Linked DNA regions of Homo sapiens: regions 2, 3, 4, 5, 6 and 7 are each linked to region 1. The links are contacts of gene promoters, found by promoter capture Hi-C in blood cells and fetal thymus (Javierre and others, 2016). All regions are on one chromosome and are shown on one strand. The core of a region is centred on a gene start or on the middle of the fragment in contact, and the rest is flanking DNA. Distances in the headings are between cores, read along the strand shown. Region 1 holds the start of ECM1 (extracellular matrix protein 1). Region 2 overlaps MINDY1 (MINDY lysine 48 deubiquitinase 1). Region 3 holds the start of ANXA9 (annexin A9). Region 4 overlaps SETDB1 (SET domain bifurcated histone lysine methyltransferase 1). Region 5 overlaps SETDB1 (SET domain bifurcated histone lysine methyltransferase 1). Region 6 overlaps ARNT (aryl hydrocarbon receptor nuclear translocator). Region 7 overlaps ARNT (aryl hydrocarbon receptor nuclear translocator).

Region 1 (3,463 bases), core at 81-2,580:
GACAGACAAGCAAGACACGAGATGCCCCTCTGTATTCACCTGCCCCGTGTCCCCTAATCCTCTCCCAGCCCCAACACACCTAGACATGACCAGCTGGGTTCTGAGAAAGCCTGTGGCGGTCTGATAGCTCCACCTCTACTGGCTCAGAGGTTGGGCCTAAAGGGAGTATGGCATACGGGATTGGGGAGGGAGGCCCTCATTTCCTCTGCCAGTCTTTCCCTCAGGGCTGTGGGTTGTCCTCCCCAGTCTCTGCTGGGATGCGTCTCTAGCTTTCAGAGGAAAAAGTCTGGACCTTGAGCTGGTTGGAGCCTACCCAATCCACCTCCTCCACCCACCCTCCTACTCCAGGCCCTTGAAACATCTTTAGGCCTTTGGTTAAGGAGGCTTCCTGAAGGTTGAGTGCTTCCCCTTCAGCCAGTCTCAGCTCCGCCTTAGTTTAGGTCTCAATTTAGGGCCTGGGGGACTGGGACAGGCACAGGGAAGGGTCACTTGTAGGTGATCTGCAGACACAAAAGACCAGGAGCTGGGAAGAATGATGGCATGGGGCTTCACAGAGAAGTGGACAGATTTGCTGACATCCTCAGCAGCTTCCTGCAGGAGTGCCCTGGGTGGTTTTTTTCCTTTTCTTTTCCTTTTTTTCTTAGTTTCCACCCATAGCATTGAGGGGTTCCTGTTTTGTTCAGGCATCAAAGCAGATAAAGAATGTGTTTGTGCTGGATGGAGGGTGGGTCTGTGGATGGACACCCCTCAACTCCTCTAATCAGACAGGGAGTCAGTCGAGGCTTGCTGGGCCAGCAATCCGGTTTTGAGCAGCCTGGGGGCCCCTTTTCCCTCCCTTGCCTCTCCCACCAGCCACCTCCCTACATCCTCATCAGCAGGAGACCCTCACTCTGTGAACCCACCCCCCACTCAGTTGTCTATTTGACTGGGATTCTGTGTTTCTTGGCAGCAGTTTCTAGGAACCCCTCTCCTTCTGTGCCCCTGCTCTCTGCCTCCTTGGTTAAAGGCTCCACTGGCCTAGGCCCACTTTGGGCCTGCTCAGAAAAGGAAAGCCAAACGGAGAATCACTCTGCTAGTGATGAGCCGTCTGGGATGCCTGGACCCAGACCCCTGCCATGCAAGCCCAGACCCCCTCCTAAGTGCTGATCCCCCAACTCACCTCCCTCAGAGGCAGCAGAAGCAACAGCCAAATAGGTCAAGACCAAGGCTGCTCTGGCTGTGGTCCCCATCCTGGGGCAACTGACCACTGGACACTCAGAGGTGGGTCCTCTCAGGCAAGTCTGGATGTGAAGGGCCGGCCACTGAAGCTTGTCTGGTGGCTGTTACGGTTGTGAGCTTCAGGACCAGCTCTTCTTTTATAATTGTCTGGTGTGATCTCCCGCCCTCCTCAGCTTCCTGCCATGACTCAGTCCCAGCTGCTCCTCCTCTGGAAGCCACTCCTCCCAAAGTCACCCTGAAGCCTCCTCAGAGGATTGAGAAGAATGGGACTGATTAGAGGAGAACATTCTTATGACCTTCAAGAGAAACTGATTCAGAGAATCCAGGAGCAAGAGGTGTTTGAGCCCCTAGTTTGTGCCTCAGTTTCTCCATCTACAGGCTGCCTTCTGTGGAGAGGGGATCTGCCAACTCATGAACTGGGGTTGGGGAAACAGGGCACAAAGGAGTTTACAGCGGGGAGCAGGAAACCTATCCAAGGGATCTCCCCTACCAGTGTGAGGTCTGGACTGTCCCTTTTCAATTTCCCTAACTCTCTGGGACAAAAAAGAGGGAGACAAAGTGGAACATCCTTTTATCCCACCTCTCCAGAGTCAGAGATGAAGACATATGACCAGCAGCTTCCAGTTTGTATTTATTTATTTATTTATTTATTTAGAGACAGAGTCTCGCTCTGTCGCCTAGGGGGGTGCAGTGGCGCAATCTCAGCTCACTGCAACCTCTACCTCCCGGGTTCAAGCGATTCTCCTGCCTCAGCCTCCTGAGTAGCTGGGATTACAGGCGTGTGCCACCATGCCCGGCTAATTTTTTGTATTTTTAGTAGAGACAGGGTTTCACCGTGTTAGCCAGGGTGGTCTTGATCTCCTGACCTCATGATCCGTCCGCCTCAGCCTCCCAGAGTGCTGGGATTACAGGCATGAGCCACTGCGCCTGGCCCAATTTATTTTTTTTTGTAGTTTCATTCTCCTCACATCCAAACAGCTACAGCTTCCCTCCTTTTGTGGGGTCCCCAAACCAAGTCTCTTTTCAGGAGAGCAGACATGTGCCTCCACACAGTTCTGAAGTTCTGGGGGCTCCACATTGTCAGCTGGGTTGGGGTCTCCCATGTGAGGGAGGCTGATGGCACTCGCAGGTTTTTGCCTCATCTATGTACAAAGGCTCAGAAAATTTCTTCGGCATTTGGGACCCTCGTGTTCTGTAGCTCCACCAGTCGCTGCACAGCCTCAGGCAAGTCCCACTCCCCAAGGCGACGATTATCTCGAGTCCGAATGTTCACTGTTCTCTTACTTTGCTCTTTCTGGCCAACCACTGCAGGTAGAGGAAGTTTGGGAACCTCAGGGCAAATTCACCCACATGGAACAGTTTCTTTTGCTCTGCAGAAACTTGAGAGACCTAAATCTTTAGGAAGGGTGGGAGCAGAGCCCAGATATGGTTCACAGAAAGGAAGTATTCAGCTGTGTCTGCTAATACTAAATGACCAGTCCTGCTCATCCTGAGGAGACAAGGAAGTGCTTCAGTCCCCGCAGGCCTTATCGCTTCTGGTCAAGAGCCCCAGGGTCAGAGACATAAGAGTCAAGCAGAGAAAGACAAACACTGAGAACCCCACAGAGAGAAACTGTGTGTGTGTGTGTGTGTGTGTGTGTGTGTGTCAGAGACATTAGAGTCAAGCAGAGAAAGACAAACAATGAGAACCCCACAGAGAGAAACTGTGTGTGTGTGTGTGTGTGTGTGTGTGTGCGCGCGCGTGTCTGAAGGGGGTATTAGAGCAAGTGGAAGGTGGCAGGAGTGGTGTGGCCTTCACACTGCCCCGCCTCCCCCCAACCACTCTGACCCTTAGAACAGTTTCCTCTCATCAGTCCCACTCTGGCTCTTGGTGTCTGTTAGGGCTGGATTCACAGAGTGAGGGGCCTCTGCTGAGGAGGATGTATGCAGGGGCTGACTGGGCGGTAAGGGAGGGAAAGGGGCCATGTACAAGTCCCTGGGATTGCAGCACAGCTTGCTCTGGGTGCTTGTAGGGAGAGTGGGGTGTGCAAAACTCAAGAATCAGGTAATCTGGCTGAGGAGTTTCTGCTCCTCACCTTTGAGATAGAGCCCTGAACCCTGGAAAATGAAAAAGGGAGCATGGCAGTGCCAGAATTTTCTCCCTAAGGCCTTTCTCCTCATCCCTTAGGGCTGATTCCATCTAGGTCTAAAATAAACAAGGGTAATTAACGCTGTATTAACCCTCCCGTCCCTTTCTCTCTGATGC
Region 2 (3,463 bases), core at 722-3,221, 490 kb before region 1:
AGTGTGGGGACAACCTTGAGTCCCCTCTGCCTGAAGCTAGCTCAGCTCCACCGGGGCCAACCCTTGGGACACTGCCTGAAGTAGAGACAATAAGGGCATGCTCCATGCCCCAGGAGCTTCCTCAGTCCCCCAGGACCCGACAGCCTGAGCCAGATTTCTACTGTGTCAAGTGGATCCCTTGGAAAGGAGAACAGACACCCATCATCACCCAGAGCACTAACGGCCCTTGCCCTCTCCTTGCCATCATGAACATCCTCTTTCTTCAGTGGAAGGTAAGAGAACATGCAGTTAGGGGTGCAAAAAATATCAGGGAGTACTCTTCCCTGACTTACTTCCTTGATCATCCTGATGTCCTCAAACTAGTCAAAACTTTTCAGATTGTTCTCCCTATTTCTCCAGCTTGAGCAAATGAGATAAGATGTTCCTAAAAACAAAGAAAAAAAAAAAAGAGGAAGATCTGTCCTACCCCTGTATCTCCTACTCCCTAGCAAATGCACATGCCTTGCAAGATTTCACATTCATTCCCTTGTGCCAGTTGCAAGCCTTTTTTCCTACCCCACCCTACTACTGGAGCTCCCCCTTGCCTTTCCATGGGTTCTTCCTTCAGTGCTCTTTGGAGGAAAGCACACACGTGATCACCCCTTCTGCCTCCAGGTGAAGCTCCCCCCGCAGAAGGAAGTGATCACATCGGATGAGCTCATGGCCCATCTTGGTGAGTGACTGGGCGTTGAAGAGGAATTACCCAAGGGGCTCCAGAGCTATCCACTCAGCCAGAAATCCAGACTATTCAGGGATCTCCATTTGGGGGTTCTGATACAGCAGGGAGGGTAAGGGTCTATGGGGCTTCTCTGCAAGGCTGGAGAATGAAAAGCAAAGGCGTCGGGAGTCCTGGGTTGTAACACCAATTCTGCCCTTAGCTTTTGTATCTGACCCTGGGTGGGCCGTTCACCTTTATGAGGCTGTCGCCTCCTCTGAGAAATGAAGAGTCTGGATTAGACTCTAAGTATTTTCCAGCTCTGAAAATCTGTGTTCTGTGACATTACCCGCATTCTCCAGGAGAAGAGGAAACTTAGCTTTTGGGATGATTGGTGGGGTAAGCTGATAAGGGGCCCTGTCTTGTAGGAAACTGCCTCCTGTCCATCAAGCCCCAGGAGAAGTCAGAGGGACTTCAGCTTAATTTTCAGCAGGTGAGGCAAAAGGTCTGCAGGCATAGGGGTTTGCAGGTTTGTAAGGGGACATCTTGTAATACTAAGATAAGCTTTTGTTGCTTCTTCAGAGGTTTCCTTGAACCATGATTTCATTCTGCAGGAGTCAGAGGAGAGTTTATCTTTGTCCTAGAAAATATGTTCATTGGCCGGGTGCTCACACCTGTAATCCCAGCACTTTGAGATGCCAAAGCGGGAGGATCACTTGAGGCCAGGAGTTCGAGGCCAGCCTGGGCAACATAATAATACCCCTGTCTCTAAAAAAAACCATTTTTTTTTTCAAGAATTAGCCAGGTATGGCGGTGCGTGCCTGTAGTCCCAGCTACTCAGGAGGCTGAGGTGGGAGGGTCACTTGAAACCAAGAGTTTGAGGCTGCAGTGAGCTAGGATCACACCACTGCACTCCAGCCTGGATGAAAGAATTAGACTTAGACTCTCAAAGAAAAACAATGTTCATTTATATAAGATAGAGAAGGGTTGAGGCAAGGGAGAAATGGAGTGGCTTGTAAGAGAATCAGGGAAGAAGAGCAGCAAGGTTAATTTTTAATTTCTGCAGGTGGGAGTGGAGTGGTGGGAGAGAAGGCTAGAATCTCCATCATTTTTTTTTCTACCCCCAGAATGTGGATGATGCAATGACAGTGCTGCCTAAACTGGCCACAGGTCTGGATGTCAATGTGCGATTCACAGGCGTCTCTGATTTTGAGTATACACCCGAGTGCAGTGTCTTTGACCTGCTAGGCATACCTCTGTACCATGGCTGGCTTGTTGATCCACAGGTGAGGGTGGGAGGGCCCACTGGGACCTTATCCAGCTCAAGCTGACATGAGAGAGGCAAATTTTTGTCGGGTAGAGGTTAGGGAGTTAGGGGTTAGATTGGCTTGGGAGGGAAATAGTGTTTAGAGACTGGACCCAGTACAGAATTCCTTGAATTTTAATCTATTTTGGGGGTAACATGCAAATACAAGCAAACTACATGCAAATAGGTCAGTTCTTTAGACATCAAAAATTCAGGAAGCAGATGGGTTTGGTGGCACATGCCTGTATTCCCAGCTACTTGGGAGGAGTTCGAGGCCAGTCTGGGCAACATAGCAACCCTATGATGAATGGTTCCTGAAATTTTTTTCTTTTTTGAGAGACCAAAAAAAAAAAGTGTTTAGGAACCATTCATCACAGGGTTGTAGTCCTTGTGAGCTTTGTTCATTTCCTTCCTTAAAAAAGAAAAAAAAATCCCAATTTTTTTGGTATCCCACATCCCACTACCCAAGCAGAGTCCTGAGGCTGTGCGTGCAGTTGGGAAACTGAGTTACAACCAGCTGGTGGAGAGGATCATCACCTGCAAACACTCCAGTGACACCAACCTCGTGACAGAAGGTGACATTCCTCCCCTTCTCATGGATAGTATGTGGAGGGAATGACAGCTACTTAGGCTTATTTTTTATTGGGTGTCATCTCCTACCACATCCCACTAGATATAAGCTTCACAAGAAGGAGCTTGGGGAATTTCTGTTTAGTTCATTGAGGTATCCCCAGTGCCTGGCACAAGGTAGCTGCTCTATTATAAGTATTTGTTAAGTGAATGAATACAGCCAGGTTTCAAGAAAGGGACGTCAGAAGGTGGGACTGACCCCCCGGGGCTTTTGACAGGGGCTCTCTGGATGGTCCTTCCTGTTGTGGACCTTGAATTTAAGCCAAGTTTCCCCCGACTCGTCCCTTTCTGGCAGGCCTGATTGCAGAGCAGTTCCTGGAGACCACCGCGGCCCAGCTGACCTACCACGGACTGTGTGAGCTGACAGCAGCTGCTAAGGAGGGTGAACTTAGCGTCTTTTTCCGAAACAACCACTTTAGCACCATGACTAAGCATAAGGTAATGCGAGTTTGGGGGTGGCGTGCTGCGGTGCTGTCATTTCCTGGTGCCTTTTTCTCGTGGGTCCAGCTGGGATCAGCTAGATTAAGCCGTGGTAGCAAGTGACCCCTCAAATCCCTGTGGTTTACCACAACAAAGGTTCATTTCCCGCTCCTGGTGCGTGTCCACTGTGGACTGGCTACGGTTCTGTCCCACACCATCTTCACTCTGGGACCCAGCTGACAAAAGATCCTTTATCTGGAATATATGTGGGAACAGAGAGAGAGAGGGGCACTGTGCACTCATGCTTAGAGCTTCTGTTTGGAAATGACACATGTCATTTCTGCTCACATCTTCTGGCCAGAGCAAGCCATAAGGGATAAGCCTGCCGTCGATGGGACAGGAAAGTATGATCC
Region 3 (3,463 bases), core at 699-3,198, 470 kb before region 1:
GGAAGGGCCCCAGAAGTGTGGGGAGGTTTGGGAAGATTTGGCTGGTTTTCATCTCAGGCCCTGTTTAGCCAGGAAGCAGGGGCTGGCCTCAGCGGCTGTTGCTGTCTCTCGAGTCCTCCAGGGGGTTTCTCACCCCAGTCCACTGCTGTGGGAGGTCAGCATGGCCTCACCTGTTGGGTGCGCTCCTGGAAGTTTCGTGAGATGAGCTGCCTTTGCTCTCTGCTCCGGTTGGTCAGCACGTCCACAATGGCACTGCGGTCCACGCCTGAACCGAGATGAGGGCTGTGCTGTGAGCAGGGTCTTTACATAGTGGGATGTTCCTACTCCTTGGAGGAGGGAAGGCGCTCCAGGAGAGGGCTGGGAAGGAAAGGAGCAGGGGCTATATCACCCCCACTTCCATTTTATCTCAAAAGAAGTTGCAAATAAAATGTCAAAACAGCATGCAAATCTGACCCAGACCAAGGCAAAGGTGGCCTGGTGTGGTGGTTAAAAAAAAATACGACTTGGGGGGATCGGCTGACCTAGATGAGAATACCACCTCCGTCATGAGCTGAGTGACCTTGGGCAAGCCTCTTAATCTCCCTGAGCCCCAGTTTCCTCATCTGGAAAATGGAAATAATAAGCCTTGCCTCACAGGGGTGTTGTGAGAATGGGTTTGACACACCTACTGTGGCGCCTGACATACAAGAATGAAGGCATTCCACAAACATTTCTCCAACATCACTAGTTCCTCCTTCCTGGCTCCTCCTTGGTCTACAGATTGGCTCTAAAAGGCAGTCTCAAGTGCCGGGGGAAAGGGGCTCACCTTGGCCAGTAATGGCCCTCAGTAGCCTCTGCGCATCCTTGTCCACGCTGAAGTTCAAGAAGGTCCTGAGGGTGCCCAGGGTCCCCCACGCTGCAGTCTGTGGGAGCACAGGGTAGTTGGCAAGGGCCAGGGCCAGGCTGCCTACACCTCCTCAGCATAACCTCAGGGCCTGTCCTCCACTTTCCTGCCTCCCATCCTCTCACAGCCCGAGCTGAGATACTAAAAGTGATCTCTAAAATCCCAACAGCCCCTACCTTGCTGGCCAGGCCCAGGTGGCTGAGGATCTCCTGGGTGAGGGACGGTGCCATCTTCCCGCCAGTCACAGACATGGTGCTACTGGTTGCCCTGGGGAAGGAAACAGGAGCCCACAGAGCTGAATTTCCTGGCCCTTCAGGGACTCCTTATGACCCCCCCGAGACCCTGGACCCTGGGTTCCAGTCACCTGTTCCTTTCCTTGCTGCAGAAAAAAAGATCAACCTGCTTAGGCTTGGAGCCAGAAATGGAGCTGAAATGGTGAGGTAAGAGGGGAGCCCCCACCTTCCCCACCTCTCCCCACTCCTTTAGGAAGTGGGGATTGATGCGGAATGCTCCTGGACCAGGCGCCAACCCTCCCTGATGCCAGGGTCAGCACCAAAGCTCCTCAGGCCTTGGTCCGCGGTAGATGCCTCCCTTCTGAGGTCTATGGCCCTCCTTCCTGGGCCTGGCTGGGGTCTCCTGGGCAGTGCAGGGGAGCTGAGGTGAGGTGGCAGGATTAACCACGCAGAGTGGAAGACAACTCGAAATAGCATCTTCCCCCACCGGCAGCCCCAGCTGACAAGCAACCCTCAATTCCTGCCTGTACAGCTGCCTACCTGCTCAGCAGCACAGGAGCACAGGCCGGAATCTCTAGGTCAGCAGGTGCAATCTCTTAGCTGATGTGAGCAAGAGTTCTTGCAAGTACGTGGATGCCTGGACAGAAAGGAGGCACTCTCATGTTGGAAAAGGAAAACTCATTTTTCCCTCCCCCAAGCAATCAACAAGCCCTCCTGGCATGGGGCCGTGGGCCCAGTACTTACTCAGAGGTGCCAGAGGTGAGGTGGGTGTCGTTGTTGTGGCCTGGTAGCTTGCCTGTGTGAGCACTGCCTCCGGTGTGGCCTGGTAGAGGAAAGTGGGGGTGTGTGCAGCCTAGGCTGAACAGCCAGTCAGATGACCTCTCTTAGGGACGAACCCAGCAGTTGTCTGACTCTGGCCCCTCCCAGACGTGGGAGAGGACCGGGCTGTACAGAGTCCCACATGCAGACACCTTCCTGCCCAGCATCTCTTCTCCCAGGAACTGGGCCTCAATCCATGTGAGTGAACTCCACTCAGCCTCTCAGCGGCTCAGCCTCAAACACAGGAGGCTTTTATGCACTGCCTTCCCTGTGGGTCCAGGTGGGACCACAGAGACCTAGTCTCAAAGTCCAGCTTCTGACCTGGCTCTGCCCCAGCTTCTGACCTGGCTCTGCCTCTGGCTCCAGCTCCCTGGGGGGCAGGTCAGACAGGCTGCAGGCTGATTTCAAGGCTGATAGGGAAAAACCTGTTGGGGCACATACCAGCAGGGCACCCCAGCCTGCACCCCAGAGGGGGTCCCAGCCCAGAAACTCCCTTGACTGCTGCCTTACTAGAGCCAGCTGACCTAGGTGGAGAGTGCCCAGGGATTGTGTATATCTGTGGAGAAGGAAGGGCACAAGTATTTGGGAGTGGAAGTTGATGAACAGAGTCAAGAGAGAAAAATGCAAAGGGTGTTACCTTCAGAGGGAAGCTCTATGCTCCCAAAAGGCAACAGGGAGATGGGGGAGGCTCCCTTGCCTGGTTTCTTAGATTGCTTCTGTTGCCTTTTGGCAGCCTGGGCCCTGTGGCTGTTTTAGCTGCAGGTGATGCAACCCCAGCAGCTGGACTTGAGGCTGTCTCTGCACAGAGCAGCAGGTGAACAGCCCTGTGGAGCCCCCGCCCCGCCATGCAGCAACTGCTCCAGCCTCACAGCTGGCTCCCTCAGGTCTAAACACAGCCTCTTTCCTGCCTCCCTGGAGAGCCTGGGTAGGGGCGGGGCACAGAAGCTACAGCCCTGCCTCCACTCACTCCTCTGCCTCTCTCCCAACTCAGGAAGGCCTTCACTGGCATTCCTACATCCCTGGAGGAGGGACCTGCAGTGGCTCCACCACACTGAGTAGACCATGCCGGAGGACACGCCATGAAAGGATATTTCTGTGGCGGTAATCACTGCTCCTCACTTTTCTCTCCTGTTAAAAGGAAAACATGCACCTGTGTCAGAACTGGAGAATGAGGGTTCAATATCCAGCTCTGCCACCTATGTTCTGTAAGCTTCGCTAGTCCTTTCAGCTCTCTAAATGGGAGGATTGAGAGAGACGGAGGCTGTGGGACATGCTGGGGCCTCCGAGGACAGGTTTCCTGGGATGATTAAATGAAGTAATGTGTCCACTAAAGAACTTATCCATGTAACCAAACACCACCTTGTCCCCAAAAACTATTGAACTCATAAAAATAAATAAATAAATAAATAAATAAATAAGGTAATGTGGCCAGGCACGGTGGCTCATGCCTGTAATCCCAGCACTTTGTGAGGCCGAGGCGGGTGGATCATGAGGCAGGAGATCGAGACCAGCCTTGGCTTACACAGTG
Region 4 (3,463 bases), core at 453-2,952, 460 kb before region 1:
CCATTGCACTCCAGCCTGGGTGACAGAGCGAGAACTCCATCTAAAAAAATTCACATGCAAGAAGCAAAGGTAGACAAGGTAGAAGATGAATGACAGCAGCCCACAGGGGAGGATGGGGATAATACCTCACTGAAAGATCCAGAATTGGGAGTATCGGGCTGAGAGAGAGAAACAAAACCACAATCTTAGTTTTATCATATTGTTAAAAGACTTTCAAGAAATAATACAAACTGGAGATAGTAGATACACAGGCTCCATTCTAAGAACAAAGTCTGTTAGAAGCAGGAACACTTGGACAAATATGGGATGGGAGGGATGTCAGGCCGAGGTTAGAGTGGTGATCTCTCCCCACCCTTTAGGGCCTTTGGAGGTGGAGAAGGGATCCTGCCTGCTAGCACCACATTGGAAGGGATCATCTGGTCCAGAACCCCCATTTCTATCAACTAGGAGCTGGGGGGAGTAGCTAGCCCAGAGACTTCGGGTCAGGGTTCAACAATCAGGAAGACCCAGTTCCTGAGGAAACGACAGTTCAAGAAGGGTTGGGAAGAAGGCTGTCCTCTAAAGAAGACGTCCTCTGCATTCAATGGCCCCACAGCAACAGAGTAGCTCCTTGCCTTCCACACTGCCCACCTCGTAGTTGTAGTCCCAAGTAAGTTCTGTCCCAGCCCGGATTCTTCTGAAGAGGAAGAAAAGGATGGTGTGTGGCAAAGACAGCAGATAACCCAGGCACTTGGGGTTACTGAATATGTAGGTGGAGTTGGATCATGAATGGAGGAGGGGCCCTTAGAACTTCAGTGGTCCTTGCCCCTCCCCAGTCATCCCCTTTCCTGACTCCTTACTTGCTGGCAAAGAAGGCCACCCAGGGGAAGCGAAGATCATGGGTATCCACGAAGACATTCTGGACAAACAGGTTGGGGCTGCAACTGTGCTGTAGGTTTAAGGACAGGATCAAATAAGAACCAGGGAAACTGAACCTGGCTTTGCAGGGAGAGTGAGAGTTGGAAGAAAAATGATGCCATCTGACCCTCCCCATTATAATAGATGCTTTGAAAGAAAGCTACCTCTTTAAGATCCTTTGAGATCAAGAGTTTATAACAAGAAAAGGGCTTATAGAGTATGTTAAAAGAAATCTGAGGACCATGGGATAATCCAGCATCTAGAGGTGGGGAGAGGGGTCTCACGTTGAGGTAGCGGCCCAGGTTGCCTTCAAGCTTGGCATCAATGATGTAGCAAGACTCCTCGCCATCATAGAATTGGCGTGTGTTCTTACGAACAGGTGCGCTCTCCCCCTTGTCCACAGAGGCCATGTTGGTTGATTTAATTGCAATCCCATGGGTTGATTTAAGAGCAAAGCCTCGGGTTGATTTTACTGCCACTTGACGCTTCATTGGACCTGGACAGGAGGGAGAATGGGGTCAGGACCCATCCCAACTCATGAACAGACATTCTATCATGAATGGACATTCTACCCCTATTTCTCTCCCAACATTGCAGCTGAGAAACACCAATAAGCTGGAACTCAAAGATCCTAAGTAGCAGGTTTTTTTTTCAAGCATAATTAGATCTGCTAGACAAAGGAGCTGAGGGGAAAGAGTAAAAAAATGGAAATGAGAGAGGATGTGTCAAACAATAGTTTAGCTTGGAGTCAGAAAGCCCTCCCAGAGATGCTCCAATTCTTAGGATCTGAATTTTTACCCACTACTTCTTTAGCTTCCTTAAAAAATGCTCTATCCCAAGTTTCTTACTATTTCTTCCCACCATTCCCAAAATTTTTCCAGGCTACCAGTCATGTTCTTCTTGTCCTCAAAGTCATCCCCTTCAGAGCCAGAGGATATGGTCTGGATATCATCACTGTCAACCGCTGTAGCCGAAGTCTGACCAGCAGTGGGCTTTCGGCTGGTCCCACTTTCCCCCTCACTTTCTGTGCTGCTGGACAGTGTCAGGACATCCTGGGGAAGCAGGAGGGTAAGAAGTAAGAGAAGTAAATGGGAAGGGCTCCTTTAAGTCCTTGCTGTTACCCACGGTTTGGCAGGAAAGGGCGGTGGCAAGAGGAAGATTAGATGCTGGATGAAAGAAAATAAGGCAGGAAGTCAAGGCTAAAGAAGTAGGAGAAGACCTAACAGTAATTATAGTGAAGGACTTGATGAGGTGACAATGGCCCATTTTCCTTTATTAGACTCTGAATAAGCTTGAGGTGACTTACATCAGGGTTGGACTGAGCAGAAGCCATGAGTCTTCGGCTTTGATGCATACTAGTCTTACTAGGTGGGCGGCGAAGTCCTTCAGGCTTCACAGGAGAAGGATTGTAACCGTAATTTCGAGAGCTTTCAGTAACTCTAATGGGAGGGGAAGGAATGAAGCCAACAGGTTACTGGCTGTTTCTTAGGCTTCTAGCCTAGGTTTGAGAGAAGGCAGATTTGGAGACAGGTCAAAAAGACAGGCACTGGGCTGGACACGGTAGCTCATGGCTGTAATCCCAGCACTTTGGGAGGCTGAGGATCCCCTTTGGGAGCATCGCTTGAGCCCAGGAGTTCAAGACCAGTCTGGGAAACATGGTGAAACCCCGTGTCTACAAAAAATACAAAAACTAGCCAGGCATGGTGGTGCACACCCGTAGTCCCAGCTACTAGGGAGGCTGAGGTGGGAGAATCTCTTGAGCCTGGGAGGGGGAGGTTGCAATGAGCTGAGATTACGCCACTGCACTCCAGCCTGGGTGACAAAGCAAGACTCTGTCTCAAAACAAAACAAAACAAAAGGCACTTACACTGACATCTTGTTTCGGTCGTCAGTGTCCTGGAAAAGAACAAGTGAAGGGTTAAATGCTTTCACAGCCTCGGGTAACAAGTCCAATAATCAGACTTCAAATGACCTCCACAGATAACATCAGCCAGTGACAGGTACACATTCTAAAGTGGGGTGGGTAAACCACTCTGCAACTTGACAGAAATCCTCACTACACTCCCTGGCTGGAGCCTTTAAGCCTTCTCAGTGATGGGGCTTAATGCTCATGGAAAACACCACGAGCAGGATTACATCAACCAGGGACAGTTTCACCATCTGTAATGTGGAAAGCAGCATAATCATCAAAGAGATACTTAAAATCAATTCTTGTTTCTCTACTTTAGTAGAAGGAAACAATGATGTGAATAACTTGAAACAGCATTTAACATTAAAAAATCACTTATAAATCTTTCATTTTGTAATTAATCAGATACTTGTCCACCCTCTACCACCAGGCAAGTGGATTTTAAAATAATTTTTTTTTTTTTGAGACAGAGTCTCGTTCTGTCACCCAGGCTGGAGTGCAGTGGTGCGATCTCGGCTCACTGCACCTCCACCCTCCAGGTTCAAGCGATTCTCCTGCCTCAGCCTCCCAAGTAGCTGGAAATACAGGCATGCACCACCACGCCCGGCTAATTTTTGTATTTTTTAGTAGAGACGGGGTTTCACCATGTTGGCCAGG
Region 5 (3,463 bases), core at 697-3,196, 440 kb before region 1:
TGTTTCAGATTTTTATGTGGTTGTTTAGAACAAATTAGAGCCACAGCATGTGGAAGCAGCAGCACAAATTGATCACCATGATTGGAAACAACTCAGGGCACATATCCTGTTTCCAATGAGTATACAGTGTAACCATGCTAATCAAAGGATAGCCATTGTATATAATCTCCTTTGCTGGTTGGCCTGTTTCTTCCTTCCTCCAGGAATCTTTCAGGACATACCCATATTTGGACGTGTCCTGAGCTGTCCTTGCTTCTTCTCCAGTGCAGAGGCTGAGGATGTTTTCATGCTGAACATGGGCTCCAGCCGTGTAGAGCCTCGATAGATCCACTCACATCTTTTGTCATCCTGGGGAATTGAGAGAAAAGAATGAAGGGAAATAGCTTAAAGGCTAGAATCTATCCTGTCCTGTGTAGAGGATATATACCATGTGTCACCTCTGGGAATCCTCCCTGATGAGCCTTAAATTCCTTAGTCTAAGCTAAGCACAGTGGCTCACGCCTGTAGCTTGTAATCCCAGCACTTTGGGAGGCTGAGGCAGGTGGATCACCCGAGGTTGGGAGTTCAAGACCAGCCTGACCAACATGGAGAAACCCCGTCTCTACTAAAAATACAAAATTAGCCGGGTGTGGTGGCGCATGCCTGTAATCCCAGTTACTCGGGAGGCTGAGGCAGGAGAATTGCTTGAACCAGGGAGGCGGAGGTTGTGGTGAGCCGAGACTGCACCATCGTACTCCAGCCTGGGCAACAGGAGCGAAACTCCATCCCCCCCAAAAAAAAATTCCTTATCTACTTAATAAAGTATGTGCCAGGATCCATGATGGGTATCAGGAACACAACAATGAAAAATATATACTCCTTGTTTAAGGAATTACAGGAGCAACAGATATCTATACTGAGTATAAGAGGTATGACAGCTGGGCACAATAGCTCACACCTATAATCCTGGTATGTCGAAAGGATGAGGCAGACAGACTGCTTGAGCTCAGGAGTTCGAGACCAGCCTGGGCAACATGGCGAAACCCGTCTCTACTAAAAATACAAAAATCAGCCAGGTGTGGTGGCATGCACTTGTAGTCACAGCTACTTGGGAGGCTGATGTGGGAGGACCACTTGAACCCTGGAGGTTGAGGCTGCAGTGAGCTGTGATTGCACCACTGCACTCCAGCCTGGGTGGCAGAGTGAGACTGTCTCAAAAAACAAAACAAAACAAAACAAAACAAAACAAAACAGGCCAGGCGTGGTGGCTCACGCCTGTAATCCCAGCACTTTGGGAGGACAAGGCAGGTGGATCACTTGAGGTCAGGAGTTCGGGACCAGCCTGCCAACATGGTGAAACCCCGTCTCTACTAAAAATACAAAAAATTAGCCAGTCCCAGCTACCCGAGAGGCTGAGGCAGGAGAATCACTTGAACCCAGGAGGCGGAAGATGCAGTGAGCCGAGATCGTGCCATTGCACTCTAGCCTGGGCAACAAGAGTGAAACTCCGTCTGAAAACAAAACAAAACACCAAACAAAAAGCATGATAAGGATCATAAGGCCTTAGAAGTAACGGGCTGAGGTAACACCAAGAAGAAATATAACTTCTAATTTCTTCTGGCTACTCTGGGCACACTGCCTATCAGGTAGCCTTGTTCTGCAAGCAGCAGTATTAAAAAATGTTTTTAAAACTTTTAAAAATAAGAAATATGATTCTAAGAAGGGAGAGAGAAGGGAGAAAAGGATGAGTACAAAATACCTAAGAGTTAAACTGAGCCTTGAAAGATAATCAGGACTCCTTGATCCCTCTTCTTCGTCCCACTATCCTACTAAAACCTTAACCCTGGAAAAATGGAATTGGCTGCCCTTTCTGTACCTACACACAATGTGAATACTCCTAAAGAAAAAAAATAAATAAATCAAAACCATGCAGATTCGTATTATAATTCAGATAATTTATTTTCAACAATGACCTGCAGAGGAACAACAAAAAGGGCAAAGTAAAATTTGACCAAAAACAGTGAGAACACATACGAGGATAAGAAAGAGGAAGGCTATGGAATAGCTATAAAACCATCCTCATTACTGCTTCTTAAGTTCCCCCCCCACCAACCTCTGCCTCCAAAATTGTAGAGAAGAACAGTACCAGGAAGAGGATCCTGACTAGGCTGCCATCCACCTCCTCAACTCGGGACTTCCACCACGTGCCTTCCCACTCAGTCTTGATAAGCTGGCCACTCTTGAGCAGTACCATGGGGCGGTTGGGGTAGGCAGTGACATACTCCTCTATGAAGTCACGGCAGGAGATGTCTTCTATGTCCTCCCAAGTCTTTTTCACTGTTTCAAGGAAGAAGTAGAACTGAGAGGGCAGGTAGGGCATGTCTTGATAGGGAAAAGACTTGGCCAGGAGACATTTGATACTTTTTAAGTTGAAAAGGAGAGAAAAAGTAAAATCAGAACCTCAAGGGAAGCAAAGCCAAGACCACCTAAGTAATAAACCTAATGTACAAACTGTACATACTTACAAATCAAGTAAATACTAAATAAGAAATGTACAATATAGGTGATTCACTTATTTTACACAAATGGATGTTTCTCCTCTGGAAAATTCAAGTGGAAATTCTTGCTCACTTGTTGATCAGTCTAGTGGTAAATTTAAAAAGATCAGGTGGCATCATGAAATGAAAAAAATTAGTCCTTCCTTCTCATTCTCTATCAGGTTTTTAAGAGACTCAGAATGTGTTTACTGTCATGTTATGTGTAAACAAAAGTGTTAGTTGATTCTTCTGCAGTTAAAAATGATTGTTTCCATAGGAGTCTGCTCCCAAGCCAGGGTAACAAATATAGTGGACACTATGAGGTTCCATCTAACACAGCTTCTGTGGAAAGCATTATGCAGACTACACATTTATACAAATGTTAGGTGCAGTATGACACTAGGAAAGAAGTAACACCTTTTCCAACGTAACTCACTTAGAAATGAAATTGAAGCACATCTATAACGTGAGCAGTCTACTCAAGGCCATTCATGATCTTCTAGTGTCTCACTCTTTGTCTACAAAGACCCAGTCCTGGAGATGAACAATAAAACTGTATCTCTTTTGGGAGCAAACTGACCTTTGGGAGCAAAAGACATCAACCAAACTTATGCTCTTTGAGACTGAAATACCAAAAACACTAGGGCTTTTCAACTGGATGTCCTAAGAAGAAATACAAGGTAGAGGAGAAAACTGAGCTAAGGAATAAGGGAGAAACACTCACGTGGCCGGCAAATGGGATACAGTTCCGACTGTGTGACATAGGAAGCATAGCCATCATCAAAGAAAATGAGAAACCTATAAAAGAAGAGTGACAGCAGAAAGATCTGGGGGTTATGATATTTAACATGATCCACAGAAATTATTTTATCATAGCTTCTACTTCTCTGGATCACAACACGATGCACTCCAGGGAAGACAATCCAGTCCACTACTTTCTTCCTGTT
Region 6 (3,463 bases), core at 278-2,777, 350 kb before region 1:
GGCTGGACAAAGTGAGACCCTGTCTTAAAAAAAAAAAAAAAAAAGTACTCAGCTGTTACTAATGGTTACTGCTGGGGGATGAGATTGAATTGGAAGGAGAGAGGAGAGGTACGGGGGGCAGGAAAGGGAGACAATAATGAGGGACTTTCAGTTTTACTTTACATAATTTTCTTTTAAGTATTGGAATTTAGGTGATTTTTCCTTTGGGGTTTTCTGTATTTTCCAATCACAATAAATAAAATAAGTTATAAATATTTGTTGCATGAATGAAATGTATAAACCCATTTATGTATGTATTTTTTTAAAATTAGTATATTATTAAGTCTATACAATATTAGTATATTGTTATGTATGTATAAGCTTTTTAACATGAAGTTTGCAGAATATAGTACTTCTTCCAAACTCTATGACATGGGGGGAACTGAAGTATGGGGATATCTTGTACCAGTGTAAGAATTCAAGAAGAGACCGTGTGTGGTGGCTCATGCCTATAATCCCAGCACTTTGGGATGCCAAAGCAGGATGATCTCTTGGAGCTAGGCGTTCAAGACCAGCCTGGGCAACATATCAAGACCCCATCTCTAAAAAAAAAAAAAAAAATTAACTGGGTGTGGTAGTGCGGGCCTATAGTCCTAGCTATTCCAGAAGCTGAGGTGGGAGGATTGCTTGAGCCCAGGAGTTTGAGGCTGTAGTGACCTATACCAGTGATTATACCAGTGCACTCTAGCCCAGGCAACAGAGTGAGACCTGGTCTCAAAAAAAAAAAAAAAAATCAAGAAGAGCAATCTGGATATGAGCATTTGGGATTTTTAGCAAACTGCTGAGATTTTGTCTATAGCTTGAACCTTTCTTTTAGCTAACTTGATGATACTGATGATAAGCAAGGACTGTCTTTTTAAAAATGTTTACTTCATTATTTTCCTGACAGAAATGACATCAGATGTACCATCACTGGGTCCAGCCATTGCCTCTGGAAACTCTGGACCTGGAATTCAAGGTGGAGGAGCCATTGTCCAGAGGGCTATTAAGCGGCGACCAGGGTGAGTTTGAGTGTAGTGTGTTATGAATATCTCTCCTATAAACCAACTTTAGTTGCTGAATTTATTTAGTTGCTGAACTCACTTCGCTATTCCTGACCATCTCACTTCAACTTGATTACTTACTACACTACTGTCATATAAGTCTCCTTAGTCCCTGTATTTTTGTTTATGAAGAATTTGTTTTTATCCAAGTTTCCCGTAAGCAGTTCTTTTTTTAAACCAAAATTTCCGTAAGATAAAGGACTGTAGCTAAGCCCAGAGATTTTACTATGCCTGAGAAAACTGTTTGCTGCTTTCATTAAGCTTTGTTTCTGTTTTCCCAAAATCATTTTGGTAGGCTGCTTTTCTGAATTTAGAGAATGCTGAGCTCTAGAATAGCTGTCTTCTAAGTTATTGATATGTTGCTTGGTTTGGAATGCAGAGTCCATTCAGCTCCAAAAGTATTTATTAAATTCCTAATTAGTGTTATGGCATTGTGCTGATTCCAAGTAGGATACAAAGATGAATAAGACACAGTCCTTGTTTCTAAGTTGGTTGTGTTCTGATAGAAATAATTATTATACACATGAATATATGATAGAATATGCCTAGTTTTGTTAGGAACAAATTTGATACTATGTTTTTCTGTGTATGGAAATATGCATTTGTTGGTAAAGACTGAGAAAAGCTTCAGAAAGGAGGTTGCCTTAGAGGGGCCTGGAAGAATGGGCACTATTTTATTTACTTTTTGGTATTAAATTTTCCTTTTTCCTTCTTTTTCTTTTTAAAAATTGTGCAGCTAATTATAACCAGTCTTTAAGTTTTGTCCCACCAATAGTAATGGAAGAGTGATGCTTGGGTTCAGTGGTAACATGAGTAACATATTAAGACTTGTTATATGTTCAGTAGCTTTACAGATTTTAACCATTTGCTGAAGCATAAGCTGAATAAGTAACTTTCTAAGATTGTAAAGCTAGTAAGTGTCAGATATAGGATATGAACCTTAGGGGTTTAGCTTTGTAGCTTACTCTTTAAACACTGTGTTATGTTTATGTACAGTAACAAACAAAAGTATTATAAATATCAAAATTAGGGCATCACTTGAGAAAGTCATAGTATATTTAAAATGGAATGCTATGTAGTTATAAGCGACAAATATGTTTCAGTGTAGAAAGATGTTCACAATCTATTAAGAAAGGTTACAGTATTATAGTATTTCACTGTCAAAAGATATGTATAACATGTACATAGGAAAAAACTGAAAGAATATATACCACATTTCTGGGTAATAGTATTATGGGTGACTTACGGTTTCTTTTGTTTTTGATTTTTCAGATTTTTGAAATGAACATGTATGATTGGTAATCAGAAAAATATATTAAAGGAAGTCTTTAAAAATTTTCTTTTTGGTTTTTTTAGAGACAGGGTCTTGTACCCTGGCTGGAGTGCAGAGGCACAATCATGGCCCACTGCAGCCTCAAACTCCTGCTCAAGCAGTCCTCCTGCCTTGGCCTCCCAAAGTACTGGGATTACAGGCGTGAGCCACTTCACCTGTCCTAAAAGAAGTCTTTTAATATTTCTTTTATTTTTATTTACTTATTTATTTTCGAGGCAGAGTCTTGCTCTTTTGCCAGGCTGGAGTGCAGTGGTGTGATCTTGGCTCACTGCAATCTCCACCTCTCTGGTTCAAGGGATTCTCCTGCCTCAGCCTCCCAAGCAGCTGGGACTACAGGCGTGCGCCACCACGCCCAGCTAATTTTTGTATTTTTAGTAGAGATGGGATTTCACCACGTTGGCCAGGCTGGTCTCGAACTCCTGACCTCAGGTGATATGCCCACCTTGGCCTCCCAAAGTGCTGGGATTACAGGCATGAGCCACCATGCCCGGCCTAATATTTCTTTTATTTATTTATTTTATTTTTTATTTTTTTGAGATGGAGTCTCGCTCTGTCGCCCAGGCTGGAGTGCAGTAGTGTGATCTCAGCTCACTGTAACCTCCACCTCCCAGGTTCACGCCATTCTCCTGTCTCAGCCTCCCGAGTAGCTGGGACTACAGGCGCCCGCCATGATGCCCGACTAATTTTTTTGTATTTTCAGTAGAGACGGGGTTTCACCGTGTTAGCCAGGATGGTCTCGATCTCCTGACCTCGTGATCCACCCGCCTTGGCCTCCCGAAGTGCGGGATTACAGGCACGAGCCACTGCACCCGGCCCATATTTCTTTTAAAGAAAGATTGGAAAATACAGAAAGTTAGAAAGAACAATAAAAAGGCCAAAATCTACTACCATGTTTTTTAGTGCATGTCCTTCAGTCTTTATATGTAAATTGTTTTTAATAGTTATGTAATTATATAGTTTTACATGGCCTAGTCTTTTCACCTTATATAAATAATAAGCAATACACACGCACACACACATTTTGGCACCTTATATAAATAATAAGCAA
Region 7 (3,463 bases), core at 300-2,799, 330 kb before region 1:
GAGGGAACTTTGCTTAGGGATTTAAGAAATTGCTATTAGTTTTAAGTTTTTTTTTCTTTTTCTCTTTATGTCAGTACTAAGTTTCACAGAACAAAAAGCTCTTAGAAGGAATGCAACCGTGCCAGTTGGTGCTTTAACAGGGAAATACTCTTTTTATCAGAAAACCAATAAATATATCTGTATTTGTGATTAGTTCCCAGTATTTAGGCCTCAGCATTTACTCCACACCTCTAGGAAACTCACACCTATTTTCCTATGAAGACTCACAGCCTAGATTATTCTCACAACAGAACTAGTGTTGCTTTGGTGACCGAATCCTTTCTTGCGGTAGTTTTCTAGAAAAGTTTTAGTTTCCTTGATGTGGCTATTTAAAAGACCAGGTTTCTGTACTTACGTGTCAGAAATCTGTCAGATACTAGGAAGATGAGTGCTTTATGTTTGAGAATAGAATTTTATGTCTTAGGCAAAGTGTAACTAAATATGGGCCTATGTGGTGAGACCCTTTTTGCCATTTAGAAAGGAGACTCTAGAATTCTCTTGGGAGACTGTTGTTTGTAATGTAGAAATGCTGCAGAAGAAATATGCATAGACTTTTCTGTTTTCTAGTATCTGTGATTTGGGGGTGACTTAGGAAATAGATCATTGATGCCAATACCCATTTTTACTATATTCCCCCTTTTTTCTACTATTTCCTCTTTAATCTGGGTCACAAACTCATTTTGCTGCCAGTTTAACTCGAGCTTCTTACTAACCCTTTCACTGTTCAGAAAATGGATTTGGCATGATGTGGTGGAGAAAACATTGTATTGGGAAGAGAGCAGCCTGGGGAAAGTCACTTACCTACTTGACCTCCCTTTGCTCTTCTCAGAAAAAAGAGATTTATGTTAGATTTTTAATTTTCTTACTTTCTTTTTTTTTTGGACAAAGAACTTTTGTTCAAGTAGAATTCTTAAGTGGTAACAGAAATAAATAAAAGAGATAAAGCAGGCCGGGCGCAGTGGCTCATGCTTGTAACCCTAGCACTTTGGGAGGCCGAGGCAGGCAGATCACGAGGTCAAGAGATGGAGAATATCCTGGCCAACTTGGTGAAACCGCGTCTCTACTAAAAATAAAAAAAAAAAAAACTGGGCGTGGTGGTGTGCGCCTGTAGTCCCAGCTACCTGGGAGGCTGAGATAGCAGAATTGCTTGAACCCAGAAGGCGGAGGTTGCAGTGAGCCGAGATCCCGCCACTGTACTCCAGCCTGGGTGACAGAGCAAGACTCCATCTCAAAAAAAAAAAAAAAAAAAAAGAAGAAGAGAGATAAGGCAAATATTTGAGTAGAAGCAGAAATGCAGCATGTTGCATGATTATCTCCTTGAGGCATCCCCATGGAGGACACTGAGAAACTTAATGGGCTTTTAAAAATTCCTGTTGGAAAACTGCTGGATTATTCCTGTTAACAGTGATATCTTTCTGTCTTAATTTTGAGGAAGTCAGTGTTGGAGCTGTGGTCTATTTACCTGGGTGAGATTCAAATTGTCTTGTCAGACCTTTAATCATCCTCCTCTCCATTCCACTCCTCCAGTTAACTTCGTCCCAGACTGGGGACCCATATGGGACTTTTAGTAGATGGTGTATCTTAAGTCTTGTAAGAAGTTTAGTGCACTGGCAGCACACCCAGATAAAGAAGGTAGGACTTTGTGCATTAATGGGCCAAATAAAACTTCAAAATCTTCAAATTCTGCCTTTTAATGTTGCAAATAAGAGAGAGGCTTACCATATTTTATAGACCAAGGAAATCTGTACTATCAATTCTTGTATCAGCTATGGAGCCACATACTTGAGTTGGCAAAAATTGGTCCTTTTATTTTCTGGCCTTTAAATAGTTGAATTAGTAAGCATGGGAGTTAACCAAGCTGAGGTTATATGTTCCATAGGAACTTAAGTGAGTAAAATCAGCATTTAAAAATACTATCTTTTTTTTTCTCTTGTTTTTTGTTTTTTGTTTTTTTTTGAAATGGAGTCTTGCTCTGCCACCCAGGCTGAAGTGCAGTGGTGTGATCTCAGCTCACTGCAACCTCCACCTCCCAGATTCAAGTGATTCTCCTGTCTCAGCCTCCCAAGTAGCTGGGATTACAGATGCATGCCACTGTGCCCTGCTAATTTTTGTATTTTTAGTAGAGACAGGATTTCACCATGTTGGCCAGGCCGGTCTCAAACTCCTGGCCTCAAGTAATCCACCTGCCTCCATCTCCCAAAGTGCTGGGATTACAGGCATGAGCCACCATGCCTGACCTGTCGTTTCTTAAAACAGCTTTTGTTCTGAGGGAGTGGTAATTTACAAAGGATGTGAAGTTTCCAGGAAATAGGGGGAAGGGAATTACATTATCTTCTTGTTCTCTGTCTGCCTTATTAGTTCTGTTTCATGCTTGCTTTGCATGAGAAGGTTGGCAAACCTTATTTTAACTGCTGAGACTTAAGCATCACTAAATCTGAATACCACATTCTTCAGCAGCACACTTGGTATCCATATCACTCTCCCTGCTACCAAATGACCAGATGTGACCACCTGGATGGGGCTTCTCTTTCTTTCCATGCAGGGAAAATCACAGTGAAATTGAACGGCGGCGACGGAACAAGATGACAGCCTACATCACAGAACTGTCAGATATGGTACCCACCTGTAGTGCCCTGGCTCGAAAACCAGACAAGCTAACCATCTTACGCATGGCAGTTTCTCACATGAAGTCCTTGCGGGGAACTGGCAACACATCCACTGATGGCTCCTATAAGCCGTCTTTCCTCACTGATCAGGTCTCTGGGACTTATAGTTCTGAGAGAGTCTGGAATCTGGGTGAATCTCTTGAAAGTTTTCGTTTTTTGGACAAGAATTCAGCTTTTCAGGAAGAAGTCAGACAATGGGAAAACGAATTTCAATCCTTGGCTATAACATTAATTAGCATTGGGACAATGAGAAGTAGAGAAGAGTTGTGAAAACTATTTAATAAGCTAATAAGTATTAATATTTGAGAACTTGACTCATGAATATAGCATATAGGATGGAAGAAGAACAGTGGAATCACAGAGGAAATGACTATGTCCATGGAACCAATTTTCTTTCTTGCCTTTAGGGTTATAGAAGATGGAAGAAATCTATTTCTTATCCCTGAAGCAGCTTCTAGTTTTAGTAATAGAATGAATCTGTCCCACCTTTGGTGATAGAAGAACTGAGAGTCTAATTGTTGCTTAGGGATGTGCTCTGTTACATGTGATCACTATGAAAAAAAGAAGGCGTAAACATTTTCTGCCTTTCAGGAACTTCATCTGAATATAAGTATGTGAGTGGCAGGATATCACAGAAAATAACAGGAAAATGCATAAAGAGAGGAATTGTATTTTTTAATTAGTAATTTTATGTGGGACTAGATAGACATACTGAAGGGATGGCTAAAGTGAATAGAATGGCTAGACTTGAGTGAGGA

What was found. Contacts are between HindIII fragments. The CHiCAGO score rates a contact against its expected background, and 5 or more counts as called.
Region 2: a contact is called between a fragment that was not itself captured here and the fragment with the promoter of ECM1 in region 1, in 2 of 17 cell types (fetal thymus and erythroblasts). The highest score is 6.2, in fetal thymus.
Region 3: the fragment with the promoter of ANXA9 here is called in contact with the fragment with the promoter of ECM1 in region 1 in 1 of 17 cell types (neutrophils); the score reaches 5.1 in neutrophils.
Region 4: a fragment that was not itself captured here is called in contact with the fragment with the promoter of ECM1 in region 1 in 1 of 17 cell types (fetal thymus); the score reaches 5.1 in fetal thymus.
Region 5: a fragment that was not itself captured here is called in contact with the fragment with the promoter of ECM1 in region 1 in 1 of 17 cell types (neutrophils); the score reaches 6.8 in neutrophils.
Region 6: a contact is called between a fragment that was not itself captured here and the fragment with the promoter of ECM1 in region 1, in 1 of 17 cell types (total B cells). The highest score is 5.1, in total B cells.
Region 7: a fragment that was not itself captured here is called in contact with the fragment with the promoter of ECM1 in region 1 in 1 of 17 cell types (neutrophils); the score reaches 6.3 in neutrophils.

What each region holds. Positions count from the first base shown.
Region 1 is chr1:150,505,976-150,509,438 of GRCh38, reverse strand. ECM1 (extracellular matrix protein 1) reads right to left here and starts at 1,330. Exons shown (of 10, transcript NM_004425.4): 1 at 1,160-1,330. The coding sequence starts at 1,229. It overlaps TARS2 (threonyl-tRNA synthetase 2, mitochondrial), which reads right to left. Exons shown (of 18, transcript NM_025150.5): 18 at 1,837-2,523. The coding sequence ends at 2,375. The HindIII fragment of the contact is 8,833 bases long and covers 1,310-3,463 here.
Region 2 is chr1:150,998,974-151,002,436 of GRCh38, reverse strand. It overlaps MINDY1 (MINDY lysine 48 deubiquitinase 1), which reads left to right. Exons shown (of 10, transcript NM_001376665.1): 2 at 1-272; 3 at 655-712; 4 at 1,123-1,187; 5 at 1,822-1,980; 6 at 2,473-2,575; 7 at 2,926-3,068. Among named protein-coding and RNA genes, the nearest start is that of MINDY1, 6.2 kb to the left of the region's middle. The HindIII fragment of the contact is 1,422 bases long and covers 1,261-2,682 here.
Region 3 is chr1:150,980,777-150,984,239 of GRCh38, reverse strand. It overlaps ANXA9 (annexin A9), which reads right to left and starts at 1,948. Exons shown (of 14, transcript NM_003568.3): 1 at 1,861-1,948; 2 at 1,657-1,753; 3 at 1,060-1,150; 4 at 806-902; 5 at 171-265. The coding sequence starts at 1,134. It overlaps LOC105371438 (a long non-coding RNA gene), which reads left to right and starts at 2,735. Exons shown (of 3, transcript XR_922135.3): 1 at 2,735-2,819; 2 at 2,927-3,036. RefSeq lists an enhancer at 563-1,424. The HindIII fragment of the contact is 18,662 bases long and covers 1-3,147 here.
Region 4 is chr1:150,961,460-150,964,922 of GRCh38, reverse strand. SETDB1 (SET domain bifurcated histone lysine methyltransferase 1) reads right to left here. Exons shown (of 22, transcript NM_001366418.1): 17 at 2,765-2,793; 18 at 2,204-2,336; 19 at 1,784-1,949; 20 at 1,182-1,393; 21 at 840-928; 22 at 186-676. The coding sequence ends at 559. Among named protein-coding and RNA genes, the nearest start is that of CERS2, 12 kb to the left of the region's middle. RefSeq lists a cis regulatory region at 70 and an enhancer at 1-142. The HindIII fragment of the contact is 977 bases long and covers 1,214-2,190 here.
Region 5 is chr1:150,943,771-150,947,233 of GRCh38, reverse strand. It overlaps SETDB1 (SET domain bifurcated histone lysine methyltransferase 1), which reads right to left. Exons shown (of 22, transcript NM_001366418.1): 8 at 3,241-3,314; 9 at 2,126-2,316; 10 at 222-348. Among named protein-coding and RNA genes, the nearest start is that of SETDB1, 19 kb to the right of the region's middle. RefSeq lists a cis regulatory region at 3,053 and an enhancer at 2,981-3,125. The HindIII fragment of the contact is 8,160 bases long and covers 1-3,463 here.
Region 6 is chr1:150,855,926-150,859,388 of GRCh38, reverse strand. It overlaps ARNT (aryl hydrocarbon receptor nuclear translocator), which reads left to right. Exons shown (of 22, transcript NM_001668.4): 2 at 929-1,040. Among named protein-coding and RNA genes, the nearest start is that of ARNT, 19 kb to the left of the region's middle. The HindIII fragment of the contact is 364 bases long and covers 1,346-1,709 here.
Region 7 is chr1:150,838,773-150,842,235 of GRCh38, reverse strand. ARNT (aryl hydrocarbon receptor nuclear translocator) reads left to right here. Exons shown (of 22, transcript NM_001668.4): 6 at 2,582-2,795. Among named protein-coding and RNA genes, the nearest start is that of CTSK, 32 kb to the right of the region's middle. The HindIII fragment of the contact is 6,848 bases long and covers 1-3,463 here.